Regions from separate parts of the Homo sapiens genome. Here regions 2, 3, 4, 5, 6 and 7 are each linked to region 1. Evidence: promoter capture Hi-C in 16 types of primary human blood cells and fetal thymus (Javierre and others, 2016). All regions are on one chromosome and are shown on one strand. Each heading gives the region's core, a stretch centred on a gene start or on the middle of the fragment in contact. The rest is flanking DNA. Distances are from core to core; before and after follow the strand shown. Region 1 holds the start of PDS5B (PDS5 cohesin associated factor B). Region 2 overlaps LOC102723406 (a long non-coding RNA gene). Region 3 overlaps FRY (FRY microtubule binding protein). Region 4 holds the start of STARD13-AS (STARD13 antisense RNA). Region 5 has its middle 200 kb from the start of LINC02344. Region 6 holds the start of LOC124900336 (a long non-coding RNA gene). Region 7 has its middle 17 kb from the start of FRY-AS1.

Region 1 (2,700 bases), core at 81-2,580:
CACCTCTTATTAAAAGTACGAGAAGCACTTTCTTCGACATAAAAAAGGGTTAACCCTCGCTGGGGGAGAGAGGCTGTTGAAGACGCGCGTGGAGTGGGTGGGTAGCTGCTCTACCAACCCTTCCCGGAGCTCGCCCCGTCCGCGGCAAGGAACGCAGCAGCCTGCAGCTCCGAAGGCGAGGGGCGGCGTTTCTGGTTTCAGTCATTCGTCCAAAATAACTGTCGAGCTACTTAAGAGTTAGCTTTCACGTCTCTACCAAAAACCAACAGCAGTAGCAGCAACAACAACAAACAAGGTTTTTCTCCGGACCGAAAACTTTTAAAGTAACATTAAAATAACAGTGTAAAAACAATAACGAGTCACAATTGCACACCATTTTCCCCGCCGTTCCTTCTGAAAGGAAAGCTAGAACCCAGTTGTGGCCTGGGAGGAGTCCCTCCACGCCAGTGCTGGGCTCTTCCTCAACTGGCTGCTCGGGGACCACTCGGGGTGGCGCGGTGAGCGCGATTTCCCTCCGGCGAGCGGCGAGGGACAGTGCAAAAATGTCACGCTCAGCCCGTCCCCTGGCCCGAAGCGGAGGCCAGGCGGCGCGCGGGGACCCGGCGGCGGGGGCGAGAGCGCCCGCGGCCCCGACCCGCGGTCCCCGCCCGCCCCTCGCCCGGAAGGGGGAGAAGCCCGCCCGCGGGAGGATTCAACAGGAGCACCGCGCCGCCCGCCTGCCGCCCGGGAAACAGCCGCCGGCCGGCCGGGGCGCGGGGGGAGGGGCGCGGCGGCGGCGACGGCGGCGGCGGGAGGGCGCGGGCGGCCGGGCGGCCCCGAGACCCCCGCCCGCGCGCAAGGTCACCGCCCGCCGCCGCCGCCGCCCCGGCCGGGATCAGAGCGGCAAGTTTAATTTTCCAGAGGCTGCGGCAGAACCCGCGGCGTGGAGGCGCGCGCCGGCCGCGGGGCCCTCCCCACCCCCACCGCGCAGCCGGCCCGCGCCCCGCGACCCCCGCCCCGGGCCACCGCCAGGCAGCCACCCGCTGCAGCCCCCGATGCCGGGAGGCGAGTCGCGCCTGGCACCCAGGCGGGCGGCGCTTCAGCCCTGCCACACACACGCACACAGCGGCAGTGGCGGCCGCTGAAAAATGGAGCGCCGCAGCCAGAGAAGAGAGACATTTTCTTTCCGTTAACTGAATTGTTTCCTACCTCCGGGTTGCCGACTCGCTACTCCGCTCACTCCGGGGCTCTCCGGGATCCGCCGCCGCCGCCGCATCCAATCGCCTTCTCCCCCCCCCTCCCCTTCCGCAGCCAGCCCTGCCGTTCCTCCTCCTCTCCGCTTCAAAATGGCGCCAAGCGCTCTTCGGCGGCTGCTCCAATCGAACCGCCGCGGACAGCACCCGGGGGCAGGCAGAGCGCGGCATGGGTGCGCAGCGCCCCCTGCCGACCAGACGGCCCCGAGCGCGTCCGCCCTCCGAGCTCCACCCCGCCCCGTCCGCGCGCGCGCACGTCCCTCCTCAGCCCCGCCCCGTCCGCGCGCACGCAACCACACGGGCACGCCGCCGCGGGGCCCGCGAGAAGGGCAGCTGTCAAGGCGTCCACTACTCTTGCGGCTTCCTAGACCTCTACCGACAAAAACCACACCGATTGTTACGTAGCCCTATCTTTTTAGATAAAGGTTGGGAGATTTTTTTAAACCCTGACATTCAGCACAGGTGTTGTGATGGGTAAACAGAATTGGTATTATTAACTACTTTGCTCCTTACTTGTTAACTCTGACCTAGTCGTCTCGGAATGCCATACAAATAGTTTTCCTACACTTTACGTGTTATGTCTTTATTAAATCTCCCCGCTTTCCTAATTTGAGGAATTGTTTATAGGTGGTAGGCTGGCGGAGACAGAGTAATTGAGCCTGTGACGAAGCATTCCATTCCTTTGGCAGAATTGTCCTTATTAGAGGAAGAAATCATCTGGAGACCACAGGGACACATTCCAGGAGGTGGGTCTCCTCCCCTCTTCACCTCTAAGGGATGCCAGTCCCTCCTGCAGCTGTAGAGTGGGTTTAGCCTGGTCACCACAGCAGATCACCTACCTTGCGGGAAGGTTTCCTCCCCAGCCGGGTCCCTGCCAGAGCTGAAGAAGGGACTTCCTCCTCTTTTTACTTTAATACCATCCCTGCTGTAAGGAAGTTTCCCCTGATATGATGTATTTGGTTACTAGAATTTTGTTCCAGGGAGAATTTGTTTCAACAATGAACAAGCAAAGTGTGAATGAATGGATTACAGTAGGATACTTATCAACTGAAACAAAAGAGAGGTAATGCTGATATATAAACTAATGCTACTGTGTTAGAAAAGGTATGTACATCGGTATTCCATCGGACCCGGGCACCTAGAGATACTGAGACCTCTTCATTTCCATTTTTGTGGGATTCGCTGGACAATTCCGCCTCAGTCTCCTCCAGTGCTTGCTAGACCAATATGTTGTGTTACTGTATTCCTGTGTCCAAGATTTTGCCACTGAATACTCCAGGTTCTACCCATTTTATACATTCCTCGATGAAGTCTACTATGAGTTTTTTCTGCCCTCTTTTTAAAATTATCTCAGGAATTTTCTTATTTTACATCGTTGTTCCATCAACATAAATCTTGTATGGGAGAGTAGGATGTCTAGATCTAGAAAAACCTTTCCTCTTTGGTTGTTTTTATTATGTTTTTTACT
Region 2 (2,700 bases), core at 76-2,575, 970 kb before region 1:
GGGGAAAAAATGAACTCAAGTTTTTCCCATTTTGAAGACTAATCCTTTTCCCTTTAAAATAATTTACTTCGTTTTCTTAGGATATTATGCTTTCCAGCAGTCCATATAAGGACAGTTTAACTTTTTAAAAAGTTTAAACTTACAACCTATGTATTTAAGTTTTCAGACCAATTTGAAGTTCCACTAGAGAAAAACAATCATTTAAAGGTAAGAACTAATGTTGCACTAATATTTAATGTCCTGCTTGTAAGTATAAGACAATAGTGTGGGGTAGCTATGTGGACAGCCATAGGGAAAAAATACAAACCATCCTTAAAATATTACCTACCATGTCAGCAACAGTTTTTTATTTCATATTAAGCTCTCAGAACCTGAAAATCTGAATGTCTTAGCACAGTTGCTATACTACAAAATACCACAGACTAGATGGCTTAAATAACAGGCATATATTTCATAGTTCCAGAGGCTGGGAAGTCCAAGATCAAGGTGCTAGCACATTTAGTTCTTGTTGAGGGCTCTCTTCCTGCCTTGCTGACTACTTCTTGCTGTATCTTCACATGGCAGAGAAGAAGCTCTAGTGTCTCTTTTCTTTTTTTGAGATGGAGTCTCACTCTGTCGCCCAGGCTGGAGTGCAGTGGCGTGATCTTGGCTCACTGCAACGTCCACCTCCCGGGTTCAACAGATTCTCTTGCCTCCACCTCCCAAGTAGCTGGGACTACAGGCGCATGCCACCACACCTGGCTAATGTTTTGTATTTTTAGTAGAGATGGGGTTTCACTATGTTCAGGCCAGGCTGGTCTTGAACTCCTGACCTTGTGATCTGCCCGCCTCGGCCTCCCAAAATGCTAGGAGTACAGGTGTGAGCCACTGAGCCTGGCCTCTTCCTTTTCTTATAAGGACACTAATCTCATCATGGGAGATGTACCCTCACAACCTCATCTAAACCTCATTGCCTCCCAAAGACCCCAAGTCCTAATATCATCACATTGGGAGTTAGGGCTTCTATATATGAATTTTGGAAAGACATCAATATTTAACACCAACTATATAAAGTTTGAAGGTCCCTTAATTTCTTTATTCTCCAACTTTATTCCAATTCTTTCAAGTCTAAGGTATATCTGAGTTTTATGTATTACATATAAATAGAACTTTTAGTTGAATAAAATAGGTGATACTTTTGGGAAAACAAAACATAACATTATTAAAAACTCATTATAAATAAATGTAGCAGGTTAATGTAGTTTAGAAAATAGTTACATAAAAGTATTAGTCTTCAAAAGCATTTTCCAAACCTTTCCTCTAATTTTTTGAGACAGGGCAAAGGAAGAAACCGAACAGTCTTTGCTAATCATTTGAAAAGATTTTTTGGGGGAAAATAGAGAATTCAAATGACAGATTAGTTAAAAATTATAATATAAACCTGCCTATCATATGCCTAAAAACATGAAATTGAAAAGTCAACTATTCTTACTTTTAACACTGTATTGTCTTCAATTCTCAGGATATGTACTAATTTCCAGATGAGTAACTTGGTTAGAAAGGGATGACACTGAACCTGAGGATTACTGATAACAAAAAATAAAACTCTAATATTGGGAGAATTCTGTGCATGACAATAGCAGTAGCCTTATATTAGCAGACAGAGTACTGCTATAATCATTTTATTATATTTGTCAGAATAAACATTTAGAATTATATGGGAGTGACTTCTTATTGTATTTATAACCATTTTCAGGCCCTAGGATAGCATAACAGAAAGTAGAAAGTGAGAAGAATCAGTGAAACATTAGCTTCTGAGCAGTGTCAAAGTTTTTGCCCCTTTTCCTAAAGAAAACTTAGTAATTCCTTTCTATTTCTTTCACTTCTTTCCTTCATTTTTTCTGTATCCTTCTTTCTTTCCCTTCTTTCTCTCTACCGTACAGATAGGCAGGTATTTTTTTAATTTCAAAAAATAAATACAAATAGTTCAAAGCAAGCTGGGAAAAACACCTTACCAACAGGGCCATATTTTAAAAGAAAGTATATAAATGTGCTTTAGTAAATATATTATTTTTAAATTTTATTTAACAAGCATTTATTGTCCCTAGTACTTTCCAGGTACTTTTTTGTTTTTAAAATATTGACTTATTTAACCTTAACAACCTGTGAGGCAGATATCACTATTATCATCCCCAATTTATAGATAAGGAAACTGAGGCATAGAGAGGTATGTACCTTGCAGGTACCTTGCTCACAGTCACAGAACAAGCAAGTGATGGAAAGAAAGATTATGAGTGAAAAAAACCTTGGGAGAATTTGGAAACTATTTTTTTCCTCTTAAAGTATTACTTTGTTTCTGTTCTATACATGAGATTGTATTTCCACCTTTATTACAAAAGGACTTTTTACTACATTTGGCTTTTTACAATCTTAAATGGTTTTTATTTTCATGAAATAGTTTGTTTATTGGTTTAAATGATATGGCAGCTTACTCCCTTGTGCTTCTCTGTCATTGCCCTTGAGAATGTTCCGATGCACAGAAAAGGAAACTCTCACAGCTATAATTTCAAGTTAGGGACCAGGGTCATGTCAACATCTCGTTCTCCCTAAATTCTCTATGGCCTCTGAGGAAACCTTCTATAGGTATACCTTCCTGCCTCTTAGCAACGGTTTATCTAAACTCCTTTCTCTTAGCAAGGACTTATACCTTGGCTTACTAAA
Region 3 (2,700 bases), core at 133-2,632, 550 kb after region 1:
CACTAAGAAAATTCCCAGACCAACTCCCAAGCTGCTAGAAAGTATGCACTTAGGGTAAGTGGGATATTTTAATAGTAAGTGAGGTAGAAAGTTAAAGTAGTCAAGGGGTAAAGTTAAAAATGTAAATCTGGGAGAAAAAAAACCAGCCCAAAATAACCAACTAATTTTGACATTTATTTATGTAGTTCTCTTCTCTAGAGTGTAGCAAGTGTTGATTACTCATAAAATAACCCACTTTGGATGCCAAGGCTAAGGGAAGACATGGTCTACATCCGATTTGAAGTGGATTTAGAAGGGAGGAGGGCATTAGAATACATGAATATTATTTTAATGCTTATTGGGCATTTACAATGTGCTAGGTATTGTGCTAAGTGCTTTACATCTTAATACCTCATTTACTCCTATGAGGTACCCATTATTTTTGCGTACATTTTACAGATGAGGAAACTGAGAGTGATTACTTAACTGTCCGAAGCCATGCAAGTGCAGGAGCAAGAGATCTGAAGCCCATTTGGCCCTGCCATTTTTACATTCTAGGTAAGCGAGGCCTTATTAGGAGACTGATGGGTGTACAGGCATGAATTTGGGAGCATGTTAGTTAAATACAGAGGAGAGTGAGTAGATTAAGCTTGGTTGGCTGGAGCAGAAAAACATGAGAGAGGATGAACGAGGAGCTCAAAGAGGGTCCTGAGTGGCTACCACTGACACTCAGAGGCAAAAGGGAGCTGGGGAGCAGCCTTTGACTGTGAGGACACCACTGGAGCATTCCAGGTTAAACTGAGAAGGGCATGTGGAGGCTGTGGCCATGATTAACAAGGGGCCGCAGCCGTGAGAACCACTAGACAGCTGGGGAAAGGCTGGATAAGAGCAGGGAAGAGCAACAGGACAGACATCCAAGGGGACAGGAAAGCCTCCATATTCAGGTCTACATAGGACATTTTATTTCCAGACATCAAGGCCATTTTAATTCCCACCTCCATTCAAATCAAAGGGCAGCATGACAGAGTAGACGTGCCGATAAAGAGGAGAACACCAAAATGAACATCGAATGAAAGCTAGTACATCTCACTAGCCAGCGACTGATCTATTTATTGGCCTGTGAATTCTTTGGAGGGGACTAATATATATATAATTACATTTTCCCCACAATGTGCCATTTAAAAAAATATGGAAAGCTTTACCTGGAAACGCTTATGGAATTACCTTTCTTCTAACACCTTGCAAAACAGCCAGTCATAGTTATAGAGTTTGTTTTATTGCTTTTTAATTACTGCACTTTTGTAAATAAGCACCACCATATAATTAAGAGGCTGAGTCTCCATTCAGGTATGTGGGCAGACATCCTCACCTCTCAAACTTGTGAGGCCAGGCATGCGCGTGCAGGTGCATGCAGGTGCAATTAGCCGCTTGCCTCATGGTGCATCCTCTCAGCCAAGGTTACACTGAGTATGTTGAGCCTTAGGGCTTCTGTTTCTACTTTGCCTTCTACACAGACAAATTCCTTTCTCTCTTTGCTGCTCAAAATATGTAAAACTTAGCAATGAGAACTATGCTAGATTGTAAGCAGGTTAGTGTTGTAACAAGCTTAAAGAAGATAAACAAAGTATATTTCCTCTTCCTCTTTCAAGAAAGGACTGAAAAACATTCTCCCCCTCAAAAGAATGCTGGAAAGCCACCAACTTCACTACTCTGAAATAAAAAAATTAATATAGTGGGCAGGGACTGTGTCTTATTCACCTTGTGTAGCCCCACAGCCTGGCACATAGTAGGTATTCAATAAATATTTGCTGAATGAATTGGAAGAATTCAAAATTGTATCACAGATATTCTCAAAGTAGAAATGAACAGTCATTTTGAATCATTTCCTGAAGTATGTATGTGGGGAGAGGAGTTTAGGAAGGGTGGAGAGAATATATACTTTATCTAGAGTGATTTGAAAATAGACAAGGGGAGAGAAATTTTTAAAAGAAATCCCATTGGCCTCAGTATTGTCACAACATAATTTTCTATTTAATGATGCAATGACAAAAATTGATGGAAGAAAACAGTCTGGTCTTGGAATAATCAAATATGTTTAAAAACCACGTACTGATGTCAACTCAAAAGTGAGTTTTTTCAGTTATTGGAAAACTGCTCCATAAAGAACACTGTATGTCAAATTCTTTTCATTAATCAAAGAGCAGATAGACAAAGGAAGATTCATCCTTGAGTGTAAAGTATTATAAAAATAATGAGTCCAAGTTAAATGATTTATAGCTATGACAAGTAAAGAATGCTGTTTGGGCAACAGTATTACTCCCAAATGGCTTCCCACTTGTAGAAAAACAGCTTCAGACAAGCCCCATAGTGTATACAGTGGTGCAAAATGACCTGGAAAAAATGGTTTCTATGGATATCATTTAGAGATGCACATCCCTGAATACCTTAAGGCTGAAGGTACTTTAGCTCTTTTCCTCAAAGCAATTGCAGCACAGGTTCTCCTGCCCAGGTTTTGTTTATATAAGAACAATCTTGGCCACAGGTCATTTGTGTAGGAGACAATTAATCACTAGCTCTTTGAGCACAGGTAGGTTAATCAGTATGCACATAATACAATATTAAAATTTTCACGGGGAAAAAATTTTTTTATTTAAAACAATAAAGCATCAGTAATACCTGCTGATCTTTTATCCAAAGCAAGTACAAAGGCTGTTAGTGAAA
Region 4 (2,700 bases), core at 132-2,631, 690 kb before region 1:
CCACCTCATTACCTAGAGGATTTGAGGTCATTTATAGAAGAATATATAACTAAAGATTGCAAAAAAGATAAATCTGATGAAAAGAGAAATGTTGGCCAATTAATGAGGTAAAACTAGGAAGATATATCACATGGAAATATAAAATGTAAGGCCTTGAATAATAATCAAAAATGGGCTGCAAATTTGGCTTGAGCTTCCCTGATCTAAGCAAAGAGGAAAACACAACCAAGGGAAGATTTTCCCTGTTCTTAAGGTAAGAACTTACCAGCCAAGATTTTCCTGGGACTTGCTCTTTGGGAGAATTTTCTCCCAAGAACTTGACCTATGAGAGGAATTTCTCATACAAATCTCATAAAGGGAACACTGCAAGCTATAGTGAATGGTGCCTTCAACCATGCCTGCTGTGAATTCAGTAGTGAGTCTCATTTCTTATAACATCCTGCAGTGGAAATGGGGGCGTCACAATAAATTATAGTCCAGTAGAAATATTTGGGTGTGGGTGGGTGGGTAGGTAAAAACGAGAGGTCAGGTATGCAGTCTTCAGATTCTCTGTCTTAACCTAGAAATAGCATGGAGATTATCCACAGGCAATTTCTATAAGTCTGCTTCACAGAACACTAGGCCCATTAGACAGATATTCAAGGGAGAAAACATTTCTGTGGTTAAGTCATTTTTGGAAATGCTACATTCCCTTTCCCTTGGAAATTCAGACTTATGAAAGGCTCAGGAAAATCTTGCACAAAGTAGTTTAACTGTGTTTAAACTGGTATATTTCATCTTGAAACCACTTTTCACAGGATACTGGGAAGTCACATATTGCAAAACCAGCTTTCCCTGGGGAACACATTTTGGAAATGCTGATCTAGGAGAGTATGTGGCCTACGCTTCCCTTAGATAATTCTCTCTGAATATACTTCTTGCATAGATTTGGCAGTAGATACTTTGAAGTTGTGTTTTGGAGAGGAACATTGCAAGTATTCTATGTTTTCCAAAAAGGCCAGCCACAAATACTTTAAAAGTCAACTGAGTAAAGGCCAGATGACCATCTTTTTATGAAAATTAACAACCACACAAAGATTCTATCTTGGGTAGGCAGAACAGAAAGCTGAGTCGGTATATGGGTAGAGTTAATAATTATAACATCAAGAATACAACCATTCCTCAAATAACTCTACAAGATAGGTACTGTTGAGCCAGAAGGAAGAAATTATTGCCTTCTAGCTCTGGCTTTGTCTTACCATAATGTAGTTGAAGTCCTGGGTGAGGTCCAAATGGTTCTAACATTAATGTAGCTAATTCAGGATATTCCATTACTGCTGGGAAGTGGAGTCACTGCCCCACAGGAAAGAAGCAAGAAACTCTTCAGAAGTCTTAGAGTCTCCTTTGCCGTGGGTGACATGGGATATGGACTCACTGAAGCTCAGGCACTGATGGGTGGCTCCGAGAATTTCTGAATTCATGGTCCAAAAATATCTTTGGTTATATAAAGGCTCTCCTAGTATGACAGAAAGAAGTGAATGAAGTAAAATTATGTAGATAATTCTAATTAGTAAAATCTGCTTGCTTTAGTTATGGAGACAACTTATCAATTTCCAGGAAGTCTACAAATATATTCTTCAGATGTTTTTCCTCCTGCTGGCAAAGAGATACACATTAGCATTCACATTATGAATGACGCTTCTGGAGAGAAATCACACAACATCCAAAAACTCCAACAGAATGCATAGGGAATTACCATACTGCCTAGCCCAAGCCGCCACACTGTGAAGTCACTCAAGACCATGGTGGTCATTCTGGACTGGTGCAGTCTAGGGAAGGACCAAGTACCATGAAAATTTATATACTACTGTTTGAAAAGACATGAATTCTCTCTCTTTTTTTTTTTTCAGAAGCTTAGGATCTAAAATAATCTAAATGGAGAACTTGGAAAATAACTTCAAAATTACAGAAAATGCTAATGCTGTTAGCAAAAGAAAATCAATAGAAATAGATCTACAGTGTCTGGCTAGACTGTCAAATGATTTTCCTCACACAGCATAGGAATCCTGAGAATTTTAAAGGTCTGACAGAGGCAGAGCTTACTAAAATACAAATGATTTGTGTTGCTTTGCCTCCTAACAGTTGGATAAAACACAAGGGCGAAACAATGCAGAGAGATTGGAAAGGAACTTGGCAGTCACCAAGTACCTAATTTACATGTCAGGATTTCGAGCTGAAGTAGGCATTCTCTTCCTGCATTCCAACTCTCCCCTTCCTGCTTACTTCTGAAAATCATACATATGGACAGCAGGAACCTTTGATTAGTATTCAATCTCTATGAGTGAACAGTAGCATTTCATATACATTTATATTCACCAAACGACACACTGGATACAAAAAGTATGTATAGTCATAAAATCACATTTTCCTCTGAGAGTTATACCACCCTGAAATTATGTATAATATGTAAAATTATTATAAGAAATAAGAACGATTCACAAATCCTGCGTTAATGATATTCCAACGATTCTCACTCAAATAGACGGAGTTCTTATTTGAGAAAATTAAAGAATCTTCTCCAGATGCTTTGAGGGACACAACACATTTCCCACTACATGCATTTCTCAAAATAGAGTGTGAAATCCATCGCAAGGCCCTTACTGTCTGGACTTCTGTAAACCCATGCGTTATGTTTAACAGGTTCTTAATCATCAAACCACC
Region 5 (2,700 bases), core at 53-2,552, 950 kb before region 1:
ATTGAGGGATTGCTTCATTTTGCTACCATTATACTATAAAGTTACAGTAACATAGCCCTTCACAGTTCAAAGAGTACACATATATTCAGAAATAGTGGCATTGACTCCTTTGCAAATATCCTCAACTCTTATCCCTCACTTTTAGCACTTCCCTGGCAAAACTCAAACCATGGATGAACTCCTGCATGCATTTATCTTTTCTGAGCTTGGGCTCAGCCTGTTAACTGTTGGGTGGACTAGTGTGATCTCACACCTAAATTGGCTCTGCATATTGATCAGCTCTCCTACTCCTTTGCTTTACTGACTTTGCCCTTTCCTTCTGTAATCCAAATATCTCATTCTTTTCCTTCCTCAAATTATCAACTTCCTCAACTAATGACTTTGCCTCACACTTTATTGAAAAAAGAATTGTGAGCATAAGCCAAGAATTTTTGTGTATTCCCACCATCGAATCTATTTGTGTCTGCACTCATCAAACATCCTTGTATAGGAACCCCCTTTATACATGGTATTGCTTTCCATAGTTTCAGTTACCAACTGTCAACCGAGGTCCAAAAATATTTAATGGAAAATTTCAGAAATATAAATTTTAAATTGCTAGAAGTTCTAAGTAGTGTGATGAAATCTCATGCTGCCTCTCTCTGTGCCTCCCAGAACGTGTATCCTCCCTTTGTTCAGCATCCACTATCACAGTTATCAACTATCACCATATCACTGAGCTTGGATTCAAATAACCTATATTTTCCTTAATAATGTCTCCAAGGCCCAATAGTAGTGATACTGGCAATTTGGATATGCCAAAAGAAGCCTTAATGTGCTTCCTTTAAGTGGAAGGTGAAAGTTCTCGACTTAAGGAATCACCTAAGGTCACTAGGAACCAAGTGGTTGGTAAGAATCAGTCTTCTATCTGTGAAATTATGAAGAAAGAAAAAGAAATTCGTGCATAATATATTTAGGGTAGGGTACTCTCTGAGGTTCAGGCATCCACTAGGTTCTTGGAACATTTCCCCTGAAGCTAAGGGGGAACTACTATAGTTTAAAAGGGTGACAGGTCTTTTTATCAAATGCCAACACTTGCTATTTTTAGTTTTTAGTTTTAGCCATTAAGTGGGTATATGTTCAAAACTTTTGCCCATTTTAAAACTAAGTTGTTTGTAATTGAGTTGTAGGAGTTATTTACATACTATGCGTATGACTTTTTTGTCAGAAGTATATGTTGTGAATATTTTTCTCCCAGTCTGTGGCCTGCTTTTTCATTTTCTTAAAAGTGTCTTTTAAAGAGCAGCTTTTGTTTGTAAGTTGTATATTTGTAGGGATTTGTACGTATCCAAATATTCATTAGCATAAAGCTGTTCATAAAATCCTCTCATTTCTGAGATTCACAATATATCTTATTTATGTTTACGATCCACTTAATTTTTAGTATGGCACAATAATGGTTGATAGTCATATTTTTCAAAATAGAAATCCTGTTATTCTGGTAGCATTCGTTAAAAAGATTATCCTTCATTGAATTACCTTGGCACCTTTATTAAAAATCTGCCGATCTTCTGAATTTCTATTCTATTCAATTTCATTGATAAATATGTCTGTTCTTAACCCAGTCCCACACTGTATTGATTACTGTAGCTTTATACGTCTTGAAATCAGATAGTGGAAGTATTTTTTTCCTCAAAATTACTTTGGCCATTCTAAGTCCTTTGCATTTTAATATAAATTTTTAAATTGTCATTTCAATTTCTAAAAACATCTGCTGGGATTTTGAATGGGATTCTGTTAAATTTATTCATCAGCTTGGAGAGAACTGACATCTTAAAAATACTGAGTTTTCCAATCTATGAACATGGCATATATCTCCTTTTATTTTGATCTTTAATTTCTGTTTGTAATTTTCAGCATACAGGTATTGCACATACATTGTTAAGTTTCTTCCAACACATTTCATGGTTTTTATTCTAAGTGTATTTTTTTAGTTTAAGTTTTCAGTTGTTGAATCATTTTATTTTAGTTCTAGAATTTTCTTATGCATAGATTCTACGTCTCTAGTATTAATAAATGCAAGGCCGGGCGCAGTGGCTCACGCCTATAATCCCAGCACTTTGGGAGGCAGAGGTGGGCGGATCACAAGGTCAGGAGATTGAGACCATCCTGGCAAACACGGTGAAACCCCGTCTCTACTAAATATACAAAAAATTAGTCCGGCATGGTGGCAGGCACCTGTAGTCCCAGCTACTCAGGAGGCTGAGGCAGGAGAATGGTGTGAACCCGGGAGGCGGAGCTTGCAGTGAGCCGAGATTATAACACTGCACTCCAGCCTGGGTCACAGAGCCAGACTCCGTCTCAAAAAAAAAAAAAAAATTAAATAGTTTGTGCCCATTAACTCCAGTATTTGGATCATCTGTGGATCTTGTTTCCATTATCTTTTTCTTCTGTTTCCTGGTATGCCCAGAAATTCTTTATGAAATGTTGTCTTTGTTTATGAAAAAAAAAAAAATACTGGGCTCTGAGTGGTGTTTTTTACTTTATGGAAGTATTTGTAGGATTTACTTTTGCTTCTATTAGGAAGCTAGGCTAAGGGCAGAGCACCTTAATCTAATATGGAAGTGAGATTATTTCAAACTGGTTTTTAGACTTTGTTAGGTCTCGTCTATTTCAGGTTCTTTCTTACTCCTGAGGTGACCCTTTCTGTGTCCCAGCTAA
Region 6 (2,700 bases), core at 33-2,532, 740 kb after region 1:
GTGATTGCAAGAATTAAAGTATTAATATACGTCCACACCTAGTAATGTGTCTGGTGAATAAAATGTGCTCAATGTATGGACACTACTGTGTCACCACTAGGGAAATTCCCTTAAATGTAAATGTTTTTACAGATACGTTTTTTAGCATGGGGTAAATTATATGGACCACAAAATGGCCTTGGCTAAGGCGTTTTGAGGGAATTATGAAGTTGTCTTATGGTAGGAATACATCTTGATAAGAAAGGAAAAATGTAAATGTGAGCATCCACGTGTGATCAGTGAGAATGATGCAGAATTTAACATGCATTTTTTTAGATTTGCTTAATGGCAAGACTATGCGATATCTACCTCTACCTGTCACTACCTCTACCCTGAGCCGCTTTATGATAGATGTGTTCCTACAAACTTGTGTAAAACTCAGTTTTAACTCTAAGCATCACTTCTCTGCACTGGAGGAAGTTTTGTAAAGCAAATAACCCCCACCTAATCTATCTTGCTTTGAAGGCTGAAACCTTCTCCTATCTTCGAGTGGACAGGCATGTGTTCTGTATTTTTTTGCACTGGGCTATCACCCTGAGAGGTGAGCCATAACTTCTACCCACTTTGGTATGCTCCACAGCACCCTTTCCAAAACTGCAAAAGCCAACTGAAAGTATGGGCAATAAGAAAATATTAAAGAATCGACAGAGTAATTATTGGCACCTTGAACACACTAGTGTTTGGGGATGTTTAATTAGATGGCAAGGTAGATTTAATTTTTGAAGCTCTTAGATCATAGATCTTGGTCGAGTCCATTCTACGGGAAGATAACAAGGGGGCATTGACTACCTGCTGCACTGTTTTCAAGCAAAACCCACACTGGGCGGGCTCTGGGTGCCATCTCCACAAAGCCCCCTCCCCAAGGGGGATTCTTCCACAGGGGAATTTTCTCAAGGAAGGTCCCGTGTCAGGAATGCTGCTCAGGTACGGGTTCCCACGTGCCCACACGCAGGGCACGGGCTCACACGGCAGGGCGGGCTGCCTCTTTAAAGGCGCGGACCTCAGGGACCCCCGAATTTGGCTCCTCAAGTCTAGGCATCAAACTTTCTCCTGGAACAAAACCTCTTTCAACCCACATGGAGGCAGGAGGAGGACGGAGCCCTGGGATGCCATCAGCGGCGGCCCGGAGACAGCGCTCCCACCCCCGCCCGCTTCCCTCGGTCCCCACCCTCTTCCTCCGAGGGAAGGCGGCCCAGACCGCACAGCCCCGCCCGGCCCCACCCACCCACTCCCCGGCAGCGAGCCCACAGCCTCACAAAGCTACCTCCCGGGCGCTGCGGTTCCCCGGGGCGAGGGGCAAGCGGGGCTGGGTACCTGAGGAAGAGGCCAGGACACCGGCGCCCAACGAGACCCACAGCATCGCCCCGGCGCCGCCGCCGTAGTTGCCACCGCCGGAGGCTACTTCGCTGCGCCGAGCGCTGGAGCCCCGGGAACCTGGTGCCGCCACCGCCTGCGCTCCCTGCGCTGCGCTGCGCTCGCTGCGCCCGGGCTCTGCTGCCCGGCGACCGCCACGGTCAAGCGGAGCCCCGCCCCGTGCGCGCCGGGCGAGCTGCGGACCCTCCAAGGACGCGCCGCCACCCCGATTGGCTGCGGGAGTCACTGGCCCCGCCCCTGCTCGCCGCGCTCCTCCCACGCCGGGGGCGCGCGCTGCTGGCGGCCCAGAGACTGGCGGCTTCTCCAGGGGCGTCGCGGGAGGGTGCGGTCCGCGCTGGGCGAGGCTTCCTGCGGGCACCGGCGCGCTCGGCCTCCGCTCCTGGGCGCTGCAGTTCTCCCTCTCCTTGCCAGCCCAGAGATAAATAGACGGCCAGAAAGAAAAGAAAAAGAGAAAACATCTCTAGAGCTCTGCGCGGGGAGGGCAGTGGCCGCGGCAGCTGTGGTGTGAAATCTTATTTGTATAAATTCGTTTCTCACGGAAGCCCAGGAAAGGCTGTCTAGGGTGAAGCACTGGAATTGTCACCAAGGCTTTTTTGTTTTTGCTTGTTTTTTAACCTGAAGGTGTCCTTACACACCTCTAGACTTCTTTATCTTATGAAGAAACTAAATCCAGTTAAACAACTTGTCCAAGGTCATAGAGCTGGTTACAGATTGATTCTGTATTTCAATGCTAAATCAAAGCTGCCTCAGCGTTTATTTCTTTTCTGTCCAGAGAAGAGTTGCATTCTCATATGTAATGCTATGTATACTGTATAGCAAACAATCAATTAAAAATATAGAGATAGAAAGTAGATTAGTGGTTGTTGGGGTGGGAGGGCTGGGGAGTGATTGCTAATGGATGGGACTCTCTTAGGGTGATGAGAATGTTCTGCAATTTGATAGTGGGAATGGATGCACAGCTCTGAATATTCTAAAAACCACTGAATTGTACATTTTAAAGGGCTGAACTTTATGGAATGTGAACAGTATCTCAATAATTCTGATGTTTAAAAATGTATTGGCCGGGCACGGGGCTCACGCCTGTAATCCCAGCACTTTGGGAGGCAGAGGCAAGTGGATCACGAGGTCAGGAGTTCGAGACCAGCCTGGCCAACATGCTGAAACCCCGTCTCTACTAAAAATACAAAAATTAGCCGGGCATGGTGGTGCGTGCCTGTAATTCCAGCTAGTCGTGTGGCTGAGGCAGGAGAATTGCTTGAACCCAGAAGGCGATGGTTGCAGTGAGCC
Region 7 (2,700 bases), core at 157-2,656, 570 kb after region 1:
AGTTAAGTATAAACATGAGGTTTATTTTTGTGGGTGAGCTCAGAAGCATTGGGTATGACAGCATCCCTTTCAATATATTAAATATATAAAATACAATATTCTTTTGGTATGTATCTGCCAAGTGATTTTTTGTAGAAATCTACAGAAAGAGTGAAACAATTCTTTCATACAAACCAAAGGCTAGCAATCACATGACAGTATGGAATATTGTGTTTTTATTAAAATATCTAATCTAAGAGATATAAATTCTAGAGATTAATTTTGAAATCTTCTGTTACTAACCACAAAATTTCCTTAAATGCCGTATGTTCAACCCGTAGAAAACAACAAGGCAGACGCAGGATGTATCCATGAATCTTACAATGCCCTCCAAACACTTGTCAATGGTGAGGCTTAATTTTACTGGAACATGCTTACCTAGCTGATCATTCATGAAAGAACAGCTGCAGCCAAGAAAGACTTTATGTCTTACTCTGAGGTTTTCTTTTCCAAAAAGGAGCTAGCTATCTCATTAACACACCTTCACATCATGCAAAGGTCCACAATGTCTTTGAATTTCCCACATGGAGAAACTGTGGCATTTAAATTTGATGGTTATGGTCAAGGAATGAGTTCAGACATTGTTCTTGTTTTTGCAAACTTTCTTCTGAGGACCAACTGAGGTTATATCAGAGGCATTTCTTCAGAGAGTCTAGCCATGAAGCAGTTACAGTTTTATTCATTTGCTCTGGGTGGTGGTTCTTCTTAAACCCTGAGTCTACTATGTTATCTGCTGTGGTAACCAGCAGGCTGGTGGACAGGCACAGCCCCGCTGGGATATTGGAACCATTGGAACCACACAGACAGCACAGGCTGAGCCATGCCCACCCTGCACAACATCGCCTGCACACTCTGCTCCTGATAGGGCCACCACTTAGGGCCTGATACATGTAAACACTTGGAAGCATGAGAAGTGTTCGCTTTGTAACAGAAAAAAAATCCCGATATTTCTCAGGATGCATAATGCCCAGAAATAGGCCAAGAAGAGCTCAGGGCAAGCCAACTATGTCTAAAAACTGAACTGGCCTCAGGAGGTAAACTCACCCCAGGTTTTGCTTATTAAATCATTCACAACTAATGGGATAGCTCCTGCAGAAGTTAGATGTAGGTGTGAGGGAAGTCAGTAAAGAATTTGAGTTCTTATCCAAATTTCAAACTACTCTGACCCTTACCCAACTCCTATGCTTTACTTGGAGGATGAAAATAATAGCACTTGTAGGACTGATTGCTAATAACAGGCTGCATAATAGATTACAAAGGGGTTTTGTATCAGCTAAACTACTAACTCTCACAGGCTCACATTGAAGCACAAAAAGGTATGTCTCAACTTCTCTCCCATTTCATTAAACAAACGTGTGTGTGTATAGGTATGTATATATATCATTCACACACACACACACACACACACACACACACACACACACACACACACATCCTGGGGTTAACTCCTTAGCCAATCAAGAATGCAACCTTAGCAGTATAAAAAACACCCTTTTCCCATGTATTTTTAGTTAACAACCACAACAAAATAGGGCAAGTCTAGCAAAGAGCCATCTGGTTCTTTGTTACACTTTCTGAAAGGCAGCAGTGTAGAATAAGCGCCAGCCCCACACCAGCCACAGCGGCCTCCTTGCTTTTCCTTGAGAAGACCCAGCCCAGGGCCTTTGCATTTGCTCTTCCTTCTGCCCAAACTTCCTCTCTCCAGGTATCCATATGGTTTGCTCTTTCTCTTTCTTCAGGCTCTGCCTATCAATAAGATGTTCCCTGACCACCCAATATAAGGCGAAATTTCCTTCCCCTGTCACTGTGACTTTCTTCTGTTTCTATATTTTATTCAAAGCATATTTCACTCTCTGAATAATACATATTTACATGGTCTTAGTCTCCCGCCCTCCCCCACCAGAATATAAGATCTGCGAGGGAAGGAGCTGTGTCTATTTTATTCACAGCTGTAATTTTAGCACCCAGAACAATGCCTAGCATGTGATAGGTGTTTAAGGAATATTCAATAAATAAATAAATAAATAAATAAATAAATAAATTTTGTTGCGATTTAACTTATTCTGTGTTATACAAAAATGTGTCAAATTAGCAAGTAAATTAACGTCAAATAATGTCTACATTAGCAAATGCTTACAACAGTACCGCTCTGCTGATGAACCTTGACAAGCTATGGTCCATGCTAAATTAAAGGTCAAGTTTGACTGCCTCTGAAAACATTTCATTTTCTCCACTGCTCTGGATGGGTAACCCTGTGATGACCAAGGGTGATGTGCCTGCTGGATGATTCCAATCCCCAGTTCTCTAAATTTGATTAAACTCTCCCTACTCCAACTAAAAAGAGAATCAGCTCAGTGGACTGGCAGCTGAGAGATCTGGAGTGCCTCTTACCCAAACACTGCGTTCGATGGCCAAACACAAACGTGGGAACTGTCTATGTGGGAGACCAGTAGAGCCAGGGCAGCAAGTACAGAATTGGCCATTAAAGCCAAGGATGCCCAAGGTAAGGAGAAAGAGGGCATCACAGAACTGGCCTGGGTAGGTTCTGGCCTTGGACTCACACTTTCCAGGTGATTGGAGTGGGCCTACATGGGCAGGTTAGATCCATGTGAAAGGAGCTGATGAACATCACCTTGGATCCTCGGCCCTGCAAAACGTAGG

The links. Contacts are between HindIII fragments. The CHiCAGO score rates a contact against its expected background, and 5 or more counts as called.
Region 2: a contact is called between a fragment that was not itself captured here and the fragment with the promoter of PDS5B in region 1, in 6 of 17 cell types (neutrophils, total CD8 T cells, naive CD8 T cells and 3 more). The highest score is 8.9, in neutrophils.
Region 3: a fragment that was not itself captured here is called in contact with the fragment with the promoter of PDS5B in region 1 in 1 of 17 cell types (fetal thymus); the score reaches 5.7 in fetal thymus.
Region 4: a contact is called between the fragment with the promoter of STARD13-AS here and the fragment with the promoter of PDS5B in region 1, in 1 of 17 cell types (endothelial precursors). The highest score is 5.3, in endothelial precursors.
Region 5: a fragment that was not itself captured here is called in contact with the fragment with the promoter of PDS5B in region 1 in 17 of 17 cell types (total CD8 T cells, fetal thymus, naive CD4 T cells and 14 more); the score reaches 28.8 in total CD8 T cells.
Region 6: a fragment that was not itself captured here is called in contact with the fragment with the promoter of PDS5B in region 1 in 1 of 17 cell types (fetal thymus); the score reaches 5.1 in fetal thymus.
Region 7: a contact is called between a fragment that was not itself captured here and the fragment with the promoter of PDS5B in region 1, in 1 of 17 cell types (endothelial precursors). The highest score is 6.0, in endothelial precursors.

What each region holds. Positions count from the first base shown.
Region 1 is chr13:32,585,082-32,587,781 of GRCh38, reverse strand. PDS5B (PDS5 cohesin associated factor B) reads right to left here and starts at 1,330. Exons shown (of 35, transcript NM_015032.4): 1 at 1,189-1,330. PDS5B-DT (PDS5B divergent transcript) reads left to right here and starts at 1,337. Exons shown (of 3, transcript XR_001749808.1): 1 at 1,337-1,405; 2 at 1,860-1,978; 3 at 2,213-2,700. RefSeq lists an enhancer at 226-285 and silencers at 516-765, 1,186-1,265, 1,276-1,645. The HindIII fragment of the contact is 4,434 bases long and covers 1-2,700 here.
Region 2 is chr13:33,557,753-33,560,452 of GRCh38, reverse strand. The region is part of intron 1 of LOC102723406 (a long non-coding RNA gene); the gene reads right to left. It also overlaps a transcript of STARD13 not described here. Among named protein-coding and RNA genes, the nearest start is that of LINC02344, 220 kb to the right of the region's middle. The HindIII fragment of the contact is 3,728 bases long and covers 1-2,700 here.
Region 3 is chr13:32,032,739-32,035,438 of GRCh38, reverse strand. The region is part of intron 1 of FRY (FRY microtubule binding protein); the gene reads right to left. Among named protein-coding and RNA genes, the nearest start is that of FRY, 2.3 kb to the right of the region's middle. The HindIII fragment of the contact is 409 bases long and covers 1,178-1,586 here.
Region 4 is chr13:33,276,235-33,278,934 of GRCh38, reverse strand. It overlaps STARD13-AS (STARD13 antisense RNA), which reads right to left and starts at 1,381. Exons shown (of 3, transcript NR_046693.1): 1 at 1,239-1,381. The region is part of intron 1 of STARD13 (StAR related lipid transfer domain containing 13); the gene reads left to right. The HindIII fragment of the contact is 6,008 bases long and covers 1-1,894 here.
Region 5 is chr13:33,538,430-33,541,129 of GRCh38, reverse strand. It overlaps a transcript of STARD13 not described here. Among named protein-coding and RNA genes, the nearest start is that of LINC02344, 200 kb to the right of the region's middle. The HindIII fragment of the contact is 6,829 bases long and covers 1-2,700 here.
Region 6 is chr13:31,845,593-31,848,292 of GRCh38, reverse strand. All of the region lies in intron 1 of LOC124903150 (a long non-coding RNA gene), which reads left to right. It overlaps LOC124900336 (a long non-coding RNA gene), which reads right to left and starts at 1,088. Exons shown (of 2, transcript XR_007063748.1): 1 at 1-1,088. It also overlaps the pseudogene EEF1DP3. RefSeq lists enhancers at 472-971, 972-1,473 and a silencer at 1,322-1,841. The HindIII fragment of the contact is 4,650 bases long and covers 1-2,700 here.
Region 7 is chr13:32,012,946-32,015,645 of GRCh38, reverse strand. No RefSeq gene overlaps it. Among named protein-coding and RNA genes, the nearest start is that of FRY-AS1, 17 kb to the left of the region's middle. The HindIII fragment of the contact is 6,051 bases long and covers 1-2,700 here.